Regions from separate parts of the Homo sapiens genome. Here region 2 is linked to region 1. The links are contacts of gene promoters, found by promoter capture Hi-C in human tissues and cell types (Jung and others, 2019). All regions are on one chromosome and are shown on one strand. The core of a region is centred on a gene start or on the middle of the fragment in contact, and the rest is flanking DNA. Distances in the headings are between cores, read along the strand shown. Region 1 holds the start of RNF17 (ring finger protein 17). Region 2 overlaps ATP12A (ATPase H+/K+ transporting non-gastric alpha2 subunit).

Evidence for each region. The method cuts DNA at HindIII sites, captures the fragments that hold promoters and counts their contacts. A contact is called where the count stands out against the background at its distance.
Region 2: a contact is called between a fragment that was not itself captured here and the fragment with the promoter of RNF17 in region 1, in 1 of the 25 tissues and cell types used here (adrenal gland).

What each region holds. Positions count from the first base shown.
Region 1 is chr13:24,759,495-24,766,717 of GRCh38, forward strand. It overlaps RNF17 (ring finger protein 17), which reads left to right and starts at 4,675. Exons shown (of 36, transcript NM_031277.3): 1 at 4,675-4,839. The coding sequence starts at 4,710. The HindIII fragment of the contact is 17,753 bases long and covers 1-7,223 here.
Region 2 is chr13:24,698,998-24,706,220 of GRCh38, forward strand. ATP12A (ATPase H+/K+ transporting non-gastric alpha2 subunit) reads left to right here. Exons shown (of 23, transcript NM_001676.7): 13 at 1,750-1,925; 14 at 2,938-3,074. It also overlaps the pseudogene RNY1P7 and the pseudogene RPL26P34. Among named protein-coding and RNA genes, the nearest start is that of ATP12A, 22 kb to the left of the region's middle. The HindIII fragment of the contact is 3,970 bases long and covers 981-4,950 here.

The sequences.
Region 1 (7,223 bases), core at 3,425-5,924:
CAGAGGAATCAAGAAATGGTCAAAATAAGGGTGAGGGAAGCAAGAGTTTCTAAAGCTATCACAAGATGTTGTAGTTGTCATCTCTAGAAATTTAAACAGCAGGGTAAACTTTCTCAGAAAGATGTATCATAGGACTATCTCTAGTCAAAAATGGTTGCAGAATGGGCAGAAATCTCAGAAGCCTACCAAAAAGGTAATTTAAGCAAAGAAAGAAAAAAAGGAAGGGAGTGAAGGAATGAGAGAGGGAGAGATAAGAATTTCCTACCACCAAGTTAAAAAGAAAACAATAACAAAACTTTAGGAGACTGTAAAGTCATTGTGTCTCAGACCCAAGATTGGTTTCTATAAGAATAAATGTAGTCGCAGCCAGGCACGGTGGCTCACGCCTGTAATCCCAGCACTTTGGGAGGATGAGGCGGGTGGATAACCTGAGGTCAGGAGTTCGAGACCAGCCTGGCCAACATGGTGAAACCCCTTCTCTACTAAAAATACAAAAAATTAGCCAGGCGTGGGGAGCGCGCCTGTAATCCCAGCTATTTGGGAGGCTGAGGCAGGAGAATTGCTTGAACCCGGGAGGCAGAGGTTGCAGCGAGCTGAGATCACGCCACTGCACGCCAGCCTGGGTGACAGAGCAAGACTCCATCTCAAAAAATATATATATAGTCTTAGTTTTACACAGAGATGCATACACATATACACAAGATGTAGTGATTGAGACTCTTAAAGAGTAAAACAAAATGTATGTTAACTGGATATCTGAGAAAAATGATTATGATAAAAAGGGCCTAGTCACATTATCCAACGGGGAAAATAAACTTGAAAGAATGTGAATATAAATACAAGTAATACAAGTTTTCCAGAAAGAAATGTTAACAGAGAATGAATACCTTTTAAAAGTCATTCCAATGCTGGGAAAACTAGATATCCACATGCAGAAGAATGAAATTAGATCATTATCTCACATTATATGCAAAAATCAACTCAAAATAGATTAGAGATTTAAAAGACCTGAAACTGTAAAACTGCTAGAAGAAAATAGTGGGAAAGCTCTACGTCACTGGTCTGGAGAATGATTTTTTTGGATATGACAACAAAAGCACAGGCAACAAAAGCAAAAATAGACAAACAGGATTACATCGAACTATTAACAGAAAACTCTGCATAGCAAAGGAAACAGTCAGCAAAGTAAAGAGCCTATGGAATGGGAGAAAATATTTGCAAACTATACATCTGGTAAGGGGTTAATATCCAAAATACATAAGGAACATAAACAACTCAGTAGGAAGAAAACAACTCAAACAGAAAGTGAGCAAAGGACCTAAATAGACATTTCTCAAAAGATGACATACAAATGGCTAATAGGTATATGAAAGCATGCTCAATGTCACTAATCATCAGGGAAATGCAAATTAAAACCACAATGAGAAATTACAGACGGTATTAGAATGGAGATTATTTAAAAAAAAAGACAAAAGATAACAACTGTTGGCAAGGATATGGAGAAAAGGGAACCCTTATACAGTTAGTGGGAATGTAAATTAGTACAGCCATTATGGGAAACAGTATAAATTATTTGTTGTGTATATTTTCGAGAAGGTAACTGAATGGGTTAACTTAGTTAAATGTTGAAATACGTCTATTCAATAGATTAATTTGGTTTTAGAATATTAAAATTCTGGCTTGGTGTTATTCTATTAATCCCACTCTTATGGTGGGAATAAATATGTTATATGTTTCTATTCAATAATTTGGTTTTAGAATATTAATATTTTGGCTTGGTGTTATTCTATTAATCCCACTCTTATGTTGGGAATAAATATGTTATATGCTTAACAACAACAAAGAAACCTAACTTTGACCATGGATTTGATTTCAGGTGCACAGGGCTAAGGGCAGCCTGCAGGTTAGCTCTGTGACTGCATAGTTCTACATTCTTTCTCTGATCTGCTGCTGCTATTTGATCTCTGAATTTCTCTTTAGTTTTGGTGAAACTTTCTAAAAGACATTCACTGTGGGTCAGATGCAATTTATAAAAATTGTGTATTCAAGAAGGGAGCCCTGTTTATCTCATTTCTCAGCTGTTTAGGAGATGATTTTAGAGCACTAGAAAGGCACTGGTAGAGAGGCAGGCAGAGGGCAAACCTCCAAGGCCATTAAGGTTTTGTTGTAATTCATAGGAAGCCATTAAAGGGTTCCAAACAAAGGATTTAAACAACCTAAATTGAATGTTAAGAAGACATTTCTGGCTGCTCTATTTGAGGGTTCTTGGTAAGTGCTAAGAAATGAACAAATGTGGTATAATCATCTATCAGTGTATTTCTCACTGGCCCTGATTTATCCAAGATTAATTCAATTTCTGGGATTACCAAAGGCATCTCTGATGAAACTCAAGACCCACATTAAATATCCACATTATGGCCCACGATGAACACCTATGCAATGAGATTGTCATTATTCAAATTACAGTACAGCTATCCTAGAGGAAAAAGAGGCTTGCTACATGCTAGAATAGCATTAAGTGTGGAGAGAAATGTGAAGGTTTAAAGGAGAAAGTGCTTCTAAAGCTGATCCAGGAAGGATAAGGAGAATATGGGCCGGACGCGGTGGCTCACGCCTGTAATCCTAGCACTTTGGGAGGCCTAAGGCGGGCAGACTGCCTGAGCTCAGGAGTTTGAGAGCAGCCTGTGCAACACAGTGAAACCCAGTCAATACTAAAATACAAAAAATCAGCTGGGCGTGGTGGCATGCGCCTGTAGTCCCAGTTACTGGGGAGGCTGAGACAGGAGAATTGCTTGAACCCGGAGACCAAGGTTGCAGTGAGCTGAGATCTCGCCATTGCACTCCAGCCTGGGCGACAGAGCAAGACTCCATTTCTAAAAAAAAAAAAAAAAAAAAAAAAGAGAATATGAATTGATGAAGAGTGAACAGTAGGTATTCCAGATGAGGGGAATAGGGAATAATACTCACAAAACTGTAGAAGAGTCAACATGTTACATGAGAATATTGGCTTGATTAGTACTCAGTTCCATCATGGATTAGTAGTGGAAACTATTGGATGAGTAGTAGAATGAGGGTAATTTAGGGAAGCAGTACTTTTCTCTCGAAGACAACAAATTACAAAGATTTTTGAGCCGAAGTGAGCCTTTCAAGAGAATACTTACTTCACAGTTTCTAGTTACCCACACACAGTGTAGAGAGAAAAGAAAATGAGGAATATGGGCAGGCTTTATTCTTAGCAGCAAAAGGCAACCGTGCCACCTCCAGGTGTTTTGTTTGAAATACACCTGCCACCTTTCTACTAGATTACTTCATTCCTTGCTCACAAAACGTCTCATGCACTCTACTGCTTAAAGAGTAAAGTCCAAACTCCTCAGCCTTACACTCGAGATTCTCCGAAATTCTTCCCTGACACACCTCTCCAAAGAAGCTTACTTTAAGGAAACTCATACTCTGGCTAAATGGTCTTTAAATTCTCAAGAAGTCACTGTGTCTTCCATCTACCTTCCCTCACATCTACCTTCCCTCGCTGATGTGTTCTTTATTCTTGGAATCCCTTAGTTCTTGTTTACTCCTGTAAGTACTACCTAGGTTGTAAGGTCTAGTGCAAACCCTATATCCTCTACGAAGAGTTTTCATACCACCGTAGACCATATTGACTTCATTTCTTCATTGCTTTTTGTGAACTATGCTTGGACAAGTTGCTTCAACTCTTTTTTTTTTTTTTTTGAGACGCAGTCTCGCTCTGTCGCCCAGACTGGAGTGCAGTGGTATGATCTCGGCTCACTGCAAGCTCCGCCTCCCAGGTTCACGCCATTCTCCTGCCTCAGCCTCCCAAGTAGCTGGAACTACAGGCGCCCACCGCCACGTCCGGCTAATTTTTTTTTTTTTTTTTTTTTGTATTTTTAGTAGAGACAGGGTTTCACCATGTTAGCCAGGATGGTCTCGATCTCCTGACCTCGTGATCTGCCCGCCCTGGCCTCCCAAAGTGCTGGCATTACAGGCGTGAGCCACCGCGCCGGGCCCAGAAGGCTAATTCTTACTGTCTCTAACACAGGTCCGGTACATAACACTTATTTTGGCGGAAGTTACTGGGTTTTTTTAAGGAGTTATGTATCTCTCAAGCAGAAACCTGCTAGTTCATAAATTCTTAGCATCCCCAACCACTCTTGGCACGCTGCCTTGTATATTATTAGGCTCAACAGCAGTTAGTAATGATGAACACTCCTTAATTCGAAAGCGTTCACTGAATCTACCCCAACGATAGCTTCTCATTAGCTTCTCCACTCCAGCTGCTATTGGCCAAGCCCTGGATGCCCGAAGCACACAGGTTTAGGGCTTCTGGCCCTGACACGTAATAGGGAAAGGGGATTGTTTCAATCCAAATGATTATCTATAAAGTCACTCACAATGTAAGTAATAATATGCGAAATTTTAATTTGTGATGACTAAAAGCACTAAAGTGGTGACTCTTTGGGTAGAACGTAAAAACGAACGGTCCTCAACGGCCACAAGGCGCCCCTTCTAGGAGTGGTACCTCCCAGGATAACGGAAAACAGCCCCAGCCCCATCAGGAGCGAGCTTGGGGGCGGGCTTTAATCTCCCGGCCCACTGTTTGGCTATCTGCAGGGGCTGGCCTCCAATGATTGGTCGCTGCCGCGAGGGCCGCCGGGACTCGCACTCGGCGGTTGTTCCAGAAGAAAGAGACAGCGATGGCGGCAGAGGCTTCGAAGACTGGGCCTTCTAGGTCTTCCTACCAGCGAATGGGGAGGAAGAGTCAGCCCTGGGGTGCCGCTGAAATCCAGTGCACCAGGTGTGGAAGGAGGGTATCCAGATCATCCGGTGAGGAGCCCAAGGGCCCACCTAGCGGGGAGGCAGCCTGGAGGGAGCGCTGGGGGCCAGGTGAGCTGGTGGGCGCGTGAGGCTTGGTCAGCTGCATCCAATCCTGGTGTCACCAGAAACTGCGTCACAGGCCTCCCGCGAGCTGCACCCGACCTCTAAGAGGGCAGTGCTTGGGTTGGTTAAGGGCAGCACCTGCGCCTGTCACGGCTTTCTCCAATTACCCATCCAGGCCTCACCGACCCTCCAGCCGGGAGGATGGGGGCCCGGGTGGCTTTAATCTACTCCTCACAAGGCAGGTTAGCGGGTGCATGCAAAAGTAGACATAAAATGTAGCCCATTGTTTTGTCATCAAGAAGGAACGAAACTTGATTTTCTCCTGTAGTTTTTGTTGTAGGAGTAACAAGTAGACCATTGTGAAATGGTTTTGGATTTTGTTGTTGTTGTTAGCATTTTGTTGTTTCTGTGGGGGTTTTTTTGTTTGTTTTTTACATTATGGCTCACACTGGCCTAAAACACTGTTTGGAAAATGATAGTTTCTTTTGTGCACCTTGTGGGGTGTGTGTGTGTGTGTGTGTGTGTGTGTGTGTGTGTTGGTCTTTATACGTGAGGGGAAAAATACACTGCACTATTATTGGTCTGTTCACCTACAATCTACTCAAGTGATCACAGGTTCAAGTTATTTATTATTATTTTTTTCTTTGAGTTGGAGTCTCGCTCTGTAGCCCAGGCTGGAGTGCAGTGGCGCGATCTCGGCTCACTGCAAGCTCCGCCTCCCAGGTTCACGCCATTCTCCTGTCTCAGCCTCTGGAGTAGCTGGGACTACAGGCGCCCGCCACCACGCCCGGCTAATTTTTTGTATATTTAGTAGAGACAGGGTTTCACCGTGTTAGCCAGGATGGTCTCGATCTCCTGACCTCGTGATCCGCCCGTCTTGGCCTCCCAAAGTGCTGGGATTACAGGCGTGAGCCACCGCGCCCGGCCGGTTCAAGTTATTTTAATGTAACTTAAAATACCTTAGTGTGCTCTTAATACAGCTGAGTTGTTGAATCTCAATTCCTGGAGCTACTGAAAATTCGTATTACCTGGCGTAACTGTTTAATGTTTATACTTTCAAAGTTAAGGTCATTCGATCAGTTTTCTCAGTCTTGGCAAGATGGACTCTGTGAGATGTGAGCCTCTGCAGAAAAAGTTGTGATTTCAGTGGAGAACCAAGTTTCTCCTACTTGGGGTTTAGATCACTGCTACCGTTACGTAGAAAATTTCCATTTTTGAATGAAATTAAAATTACGGAATAAAGTTCTAGAACACAACCTTTTAAAATGAGTACTTCTTCCATACATTAGTATTATAATGCTTAGAAAAACTAAACTGGAGAAGTAGTGGTTATGTATATAGAATCCTGAAAGTGCTTTTTAAGCTGTAATTCACCACAAGTTATTTTGAGTTATTCAGTATCAGAAATTTTATAATAGTTAAGTGTTTTTATTTCTTTGGCAATATTATCCCTGGAAGTTAAATAGGGTTTTAAAATTTAGCATGGTTGTAAGCAAGTTTCAGGTATTTCAGTTGGATAGGAAACTTGTAAAGTTTTTAAAAAATACAATTAATGCAAGGCCGGGCACAGTGGCTCACGCCTATAGTCCCAGCACTTTGGGAGGCCGAGGTGGGCGGATCACTTGAGGTCGGGAGATCAAGACCAGCCTAGGCAACATGGTGAAATCCCATCTCTACTAAAAATACAAAAAAATTAGCTAGGCGTGCTGACGCACACCTGTAATCTCAGCTACTCCGGAGGCCGAGGCAGGAGAATAGCATGAACTCAGGAGGCAGAGTTGGCAGTGAACCGAGATCGTGGTCCGTCTCAGAATGAGTGAATGAATGGATGAATAAATAAATAAATAAAATTAATGCGATTATAATTCAGCAAGAACTCTATAATTATTTTGCTAGTAAAAGATGACTGATTTTTATCTAGTTTTTTTCCCTTTTCAGTTTTCTTGCAAAACTTTAAAAATGACAACCTTTTGAAATTATATAGCTAAAACAAATGTTATTTATTATAAACTTCAAATTCTTAGAGCATTTAATCATGATGTTAGGTTTTCAATCAAGTTACGATATTTCCTTTCATAAATGCTAAGTTTGTGAAAATGTGAGTTGTAGATATGTGATAATAGTAGCATCTGGCTTCTGGCCTTGCCAGTGTCTTAAATAATTCTAACAGCACGGTCTTGCCAGTGTCTCATTTTGGCCCTTCCTGACCTCTTCACAGGATGGGAAATATAAAGTAGTAGAGGGCAGTATGATCAATCAGAAAGAATGTTAGACTTGGAAACAGAGCTAGATAGGAGTCTGGATTATACCATTTAGTTAACCAAATCTCC
Region 2 (7,223 bases), core at 1,716-4,215, 62 kb before region 1:
AGGATGCTGTGTGACAGCACCAAGCAGGGTGGGATGGCCTCCAGAGAGGCAAGCTCAGGGAAGACTTTATGGAAGGAGTTAAATTTCAAACTGGGCCTTAAGTGACTGCATTTGAGGGGAGATAGGGGAAAGTATCCAGGGCCCAGGGAACAGCACAGGCCAATCACAGAGGCAGAACGGCGTGGGGCACATTGGGTGCTGCCAGCAGGTGAGATGGCACTGTCACAGAAACAGGGTTCAAGGGCTGGACTGGAGGTCATGAGATGGAGGTCTTGAACATCTGGGTGAGGAGCCAGGTTTCATCCTGCAGTCAGTAGAGAGCACTGAGGGCTGTGCCACTAGAGTGAGCTGGGCAGTCGCAGGGCTGGGGAAGACTTTATGGAAGGAGTTAAATTTCTTTAACTTCTTTAAATGTCTTTGGCGGCAGCAGGGAGAGGAGAGATGCACATCTCCATAGGAAGCAGCTGCCCTTGCTCAGGCAAAAGGGATGGGAATTTTTTCAGGGTGATGGGAATGGGAAGGAGAGATCAGGGCAAGAGACTTCATAGAGGTAGAGTTTGGTAAGATTTAGAACCTATCAGAGAAGGATAATGTTTAAAAATGATTAAGCTTCCCATTTAACGACTAGGAAGAGAGTGATGCCAGTGATGCAGACAAAGTGTCAGGAAGGAAGGAACCTTAGAAATGCAACAGGAGGAGGACCCAATGGGGGTGCCTGCGGTGTTGTCAAAGGGGACAGTGTGTCCTGTTGTCAGCACCAGGGCTGGCGGAATGGTGCCCCATCAGGACCACAGAATGACAAATTCAAGGAAACAGAAGTGTATGGTTGACGATCCGGCTCATTAAACACCATGGAAGTCCTCACCAATACAGATGCAGTCTGTGGAATGTGTGTTTCTAAAGGCTATTGGAGTTGGCAAATCAGATAAAGCATATAAATGAGATGGTGATGCTTTAGGCATCCAATAACCCACAGTACCGGGTATTCTACACGGGATCGATGCCCACTTGCGTTTGATTTCTCAAAGCCTGCTCCATTGACATTTGCAAAGCAGTGGGCCAGGCTGAAAATAAATTGGATGTGAAAGCTGATCACACAATCTTGGAGGTCCCACCAGACACAAGAGTCCCTTCCACCTCAGCCTATGAGAGGCTGATGCCTTCTGAGAAAAGGATGGCTCGGCCCCATTCCTGCTGGCCTTTCTCTTGGGCTTATCTTGATCTAGCACTGAACTTTGTGCCCCTCCGCTGAACCCCCTTGTTCCTTCACATGCTGTTTTCTCTGCTGAAAATGGCCTTCCCACCTCCACCCTCCCTTTTTTCCCTAGAAATCATCTTTGCCCCTCTCAAGCTTCACCTCACATGTGACCTCCTTGGGGAAGTCTCTCCTAATCCTCCAGGCAGCTGAAATGTGTCTCTGCCCTGAGATGTACCCTATGCTTGATCCCTTTAACTCTGTGCCCCGCTAAACTTCAGAAGTCGAGACTGTGTATTGCCCTAGAACTTGGCAATATAGCAAGATATATTTCTAGAACACAGAGCCTAATGAGCTCACAGTGAATTATATTTGGATGAAATATGTCTTTCCTAAAAAAATGCATTATGGAGTTGAAGAAATTAAACAATTCTGGCTTATTCTAATGTATTGGTAAAACAGCAGAGGACCAAGGTGTATGAGCATGTTCTCCTCTTATTTTTTTTCGTTTCCTATTCTAGTTTCACTGACTCACTAATTCATCTGTATTACAGGTTTCTGTCATCTCTACCTGCCAGCAGACGAGTTTCCAGAAACCTACTCATTTGACATAGACGCTATGAACTTTCCGACCTCCAACCTCTGTTTTGTGGGACTCTTGTCAATGATCGATCCCCCTCGGTCCACCGTGCCAGATGCAGTCACCAAATGCCGGAGTGCAGGGATCAAGGTGGGAGTTATTTTCCTGACTCAAGAAGTTCTTTCTTTATGTCGTGTTCCTTTCTAATAATGGTTTTCATAGCAGATGGTCAGTATTTAGGTGTCTTCAAGTAAATATCATAATTCCTATTTTATTTCTAGTTTCACTGTGCTAAGGTTACTGAAACTGTCCCACAAAAAGAAAATGATTGTGTCTATGTGGAATGAACCACATAAACAGTAAATGCAATGAGAAGAATCTCCTAGTGCCTTGAAGTGACCATATCTCGCCCTAGTCCATGGTAGATACTAAAAGGCTTTATTGGCTGGGCGCAGTGGCTCATGCCTGAAATCCCAGCACTTTGGGAAGCTGAGGCAGGCGGATCATCTGAGGTCAGGAGTTCCAGACCAGCCATGGCCAACATGGTGAAACCCCGTTTCTACTAAAAATACAAAAAAATTAGCCAGATGTGGTGGCACACACCTGTAATCCCAGCTACTCGGGAGGCTGAGGCAGGAGAATCTCTTGAATCCAGGAGGCAGAGGTTGCAGTGAGCCGAGATCACACCATTGCACTCCAGCTTGGGCAACAAGAGTGAAACTCTGTCTCAAAAAAAAAAAAAAAAAAAGAAAGAAAGAAAAGAAAAGAAAAAAAGAAAGAAAAAAGGCTTTATTACTCAGTCTTGAGGCTCAGCCCCCATAATCCATGTTCATCATTACTAGGTTAATATTAAGACTGTTGAAGTAACATGGGGCTACCCCCAAGTAGACACTCACCAGCCCTTTCACAAATAAAGTGGCATCAAAGGGGAAGGGCTTCCTTTCATGTCAGAGGAGGAAGCGTATGAAGCTTAGGAGCAAGGGTAGACCCAATGGGATTAGTGTTTCCTCCAAAGACAGTTGTCTCGTAGATCCAGAGCTGCCACTGTAATCACCAACCACGTTCTCCCAGGGCACTACAGAGTAGGTATTACTGAACCATCCCCACTTTGGCCAACCGAGTTCTTCATTACCCGTGGGCCTTCTCGTTGTCTTTGCTCTAGGTTATTATGGTTACTGGTGATCATCCCATCACAGCCAAAGCTATTGCCAAGAGTGTGGGGATCATTTCAGCCAACAGTGAAACAGTGGAAGACATTGCACATCGCCTCAACATTGCTGTGGAGCAAGTTAACAAACGGTAAGCACAGGAGCAGCATAGTAAAAATTCCAGTTTATACCCATGGGGCCCCACTGGCTCTAAAGAGCTGCACTACTTGGAACAAATCAGCTTTTTGCTCTCAGAGTTATGCTAGGCTTGTTTGAGCTATTATTTGCATATCCATGTATTCACTCTAATTTCACTGAGCAGCTAATATGTGCCAGGCACAGTATTGATACCATGAAATGACCCTTTATGTGTTCCTTGTTTGAAATTTCAAAATCCAGTGTGCCCTGGGCACAAAACCTATGTGCCCAATTTAGAATAAGAAAAACTGAAACAAAGGGTTTATGTGAAATTACTTGCCATAGATGCAGTTGCATAATTTGGAATCGTAAGAACCCTGTGGGTTGTTTCATGCACCCTCCTTGGTAAGCATCTTGGGTATTTATCCACCCGGTTTCATAACGTGTAGCTATGTAAACACACCCTTCTTTTTTATTTGGTAATAGATAGAATGGAAGCTTCCTAAGGAAAGTTTTTTTCCTTGTTTCTCCTAATTCTTTTAATCATGTTTATCCTTATTCTTTTAATCATGTTCATCCAACTGTACATTCACTCATGTATTTGTTCTTTCAACAAGTATTTACTGCGTGCCAACTATATACCAGGCAAGACCTGGAACTACAGTAGCAAACTGAACAATACTATCCACACCGTTGGGGAATCTTTCCATCGAGCCAAGGAGACACAAACAAAGCTAACAATGATGTGGCCAGTGTAATGAGGGAGCCACACAAGGCTAGGGAGCTGGGCATGCAGGAGAGTGGCCTGGACTGTGCCTGGTCTCCATGAGTCAAAGACTCCGAATTCTCAGGTTGAGAAGTAATGTTCATTAGCTGGGTTATGTTTTCACGCATGCGGGAGATGAGGGAAAGACCAATGCACCTCTTCAGTTTCCCCAAGCACTTAGGTCTTTTAGGGACACACAGCTGTCAGGTCATAACAAATTACCACGTTAGACAACCAACCAGGGTTCCCGCCTCTGGGCACAGCAGCAGTACCTGAAGTCTAAGAGTCTTGCAGTGCCCTTTAGTATACATAACATCCCTCTATGAAAACAACTTTGGGGCTTGTTTATTTGTTTGGTTTTGTAAGATAATCGGATTATACTTTTTTTCACTTTAGAATTTTAAACAAATTTTGTTTGTTTGTTTGTTTGTTTATTTAGACAGAGTCTCTCTCTGTCACCCACGCTGTAATGCAGTGGTGTGATCTCAGCTCACTGCAATCTCCACCTCCTGGGTTCAAGCGATTCTCCTGCCTCAGCCTCCTGAATAGCTGGGATTACAGGCGCCCGCCACCATGCCTGGCTAATTTTGTATTTTTAGTAGAGACGGGGCTTTGCCATGTTGGCCAGGCTGGTCTCAAACTCCTGACCTCAAGTGATCCACCCACCTTAGCCTCCCAAAGTGCTGGGCTTACAGGCGTGAGCCACCACACCTGGACTAAAAGAAATTTTTTTAAGAGTAGTCAAGTGCAGTAGTGAGAAGAGGGGAAAGAGTAGAAGTTTGATCTGTAACTGACTGTGAACAATCAGTTGAGCTAATTCACTACTACCTTCAGACCAGCCGAGTCTTCTTTTTTTAGATACAAGGTGTCCTGTCAGATCACCCAGGCTGGAGTGCAATGGTGTGATCATAGCTCACTGCAGCCTCGACCTCCTGGGTTCAAGGGATCCTCCCCTCTCAGCCTCCCAAGTAGCTGGGACTACAGGCTTGTGTCACTGCACCCAGCTTCATTTTAGCAGATTTTTTTTTTTTTGAGATGGAGTCTTTCTCTGTTGCCTAGGCTGGAGTGTGGAGTGCAGTGGTGAAATCTCATTGCAGCCTCCACCTCCTGGGTTCAAGGGATCCTCCCCTCTCAGCCTCCCAAGTAGCTGGGACTTTAATTTAAAATTTTAGCAGATTTTTTTTTTTTTGAGATGGAGTCTTTCTCTGTTGCCTAGGCTGGAGTGTGGAGTGCAGTGGTGAAATCTCATTGCAGCCTCCACCTCCTGGGTTCAAGCAATTCTCCTGCCTCAGCCTCCTGAGTAGCTGGGGTTACAGGCATGTGCCACCACACCCGGCTAGTTTTTGTACTTTTAGTAGAGACGGGGTTTCACGATGTTGGCCAGGCTGGTCTTTAACTCCTGACTGCAAGGGTTCTGCTCGCCTTGGCTTCCCAGAGTGTAGAGATTACAGGCGTAAGCCACTGCGCCTGGCCCATTTTAGCAATTTTTAATGAAAGTTGTATATAAGATACCTTATTCCTGCATCTTCTCAATTGCTTCTTTTTTATATTTGCCCTTCCTTCCCTACTTAGGAAGATTTGTTTGGCCTTCCATTCAAGGATCTTTTGTGGTCTTTGTCTAGTTTTAGCCTGGTGATGGCCATGTGCTGGTGACGTGCACACGACGGTCCTGCCCTTAGCCTCCTCCTGTGCTCCTGTTCAGTATAGGTGGCACATTTCTTCCTATAAACCTGGACTGCTTTGCCAATTTGCTGGCCCGTATAGTGTCTTTGTGCAACCTCAACTTCCTCATCCTTTCAGATGGGCATGGATGGAACTGTGCTTGTAGCAGACTCCAGAATGTGCTTCTGTCTCAGCTCTTTGGAACGAGAGAAAGACATAATCTTCCTACGAATGTGGGAAGGTGCATTGAAATGACTTTTATGATTCTTGCCTCAGTCAAAAGTCACAAAGGGACTGCACTTCCTCTTGGTCACTGCCACTCTGCTCATGGCCACAAAAGGGAAGAGTGGATTACACATTTGTATACAAATCACCACACTGAGTGAAGTGGATGCTTTTGTGAATGTTTTCAGTTATTCACTTCATCAGCTCTAGTTTCATGACCATATAAAAATTGCATCTTAGCAGGTGTAAGGGGAAAGGAAACACCCCTTCTTTCTTCTCTTACTTTCTTTTGTTTTGTTTTGTTTTGTTTTTTTGCCAGCGGTTAAGGAGACCTGTAGTTTGAGTCAAGTGCTAGAATTCCAGTATTTAGCACCAAGAGGTAAAACAGACCTAGAAAGCTCAAAACTTGCAAATTGTAAAGAAAAAGACCTGCAGCAGTTTGTACCTACATTGTTTAAGCTGAGATTTGAAGGCTGAAATGTAGTGTTAGCCACGAGAAGCTGAGGTGAGAGATGCCCATTCCTGGTCAGGGAGCGAGACCCGTGAAGGCCTTAGGGTACAGGGGATGGAGGATGTCAGAACTGAGAGCATCCAGCGGGCAGGAGGGAGAGCCCAAGGTGAGGCGAAGCTTGACAACGCAGGCCCCACCTGGGCTCGCTGGCTAAAGTTAGGGATTCCGGGGTCTGCTCCAAGCACGGTGGAAAGCCCCTGAAGAGTTTTAGCAGGGGACTGGCTCAGGCAGCTCTGCATAATCAATAGGCCCTAGAACCTTACTTTTATAGTCAGCAGGCAATAGCGCTGCTCAAAGACTTCAGTAAACTTCTGCCTACGTAGCACATTGCACAAAGATGACACTCTGTAAATCTGAAATACCCAACGGCAAGTAATTATTACCCCTTGTTTGGCCATAAAAGAATTCTAGGACCCAAAACATATGAACAGGCAGTTTGGGGGTTTTATTTTTATTTTTGTTTTTGAGACAGGGTCTCACTTTGTCACCCAGGCTTGAGTGTAGTGGCATGATCATGGCTCACTGCAGCCTCAACCCCCCAGGCTCAAGCAATCCTCCTGCCTCAGCCTGCTGAGTAGCTGGGACCACAGGCACATGCCACCATACCTGGCTAATTTTTTAAAATTTTTTGTAGAGACAGGGGCTCTCACTATGTTGCCCAGGCTGGTCTTGAACTCTTGGCCTCAAGTGATCCTCCTACTCAGCCTCCCACAGTGCTGGGATTACAGGCATGAGCCACTGCGTTTGGCCATGAATGGGCAGTTTTTTAACTTCCTTTTACTTCTGAAGTAAAGCGTTGCTCTAGGAAGTACCACTCTCACCTGTTCTAGTAGGGATAAGGCTACCTGGTTTTTTATTCCTATTGTTATATGGTACCAAGAAATGGTGTTATATTTTAGCCTCAGTTTGCCCTCTTGAAATGGAGACTAAAGTGTTCCCAGGACTCCTGTTACCTCACTAGAGCATTAGGTATCAAGGACACTGGGTTCCAGGTCAAG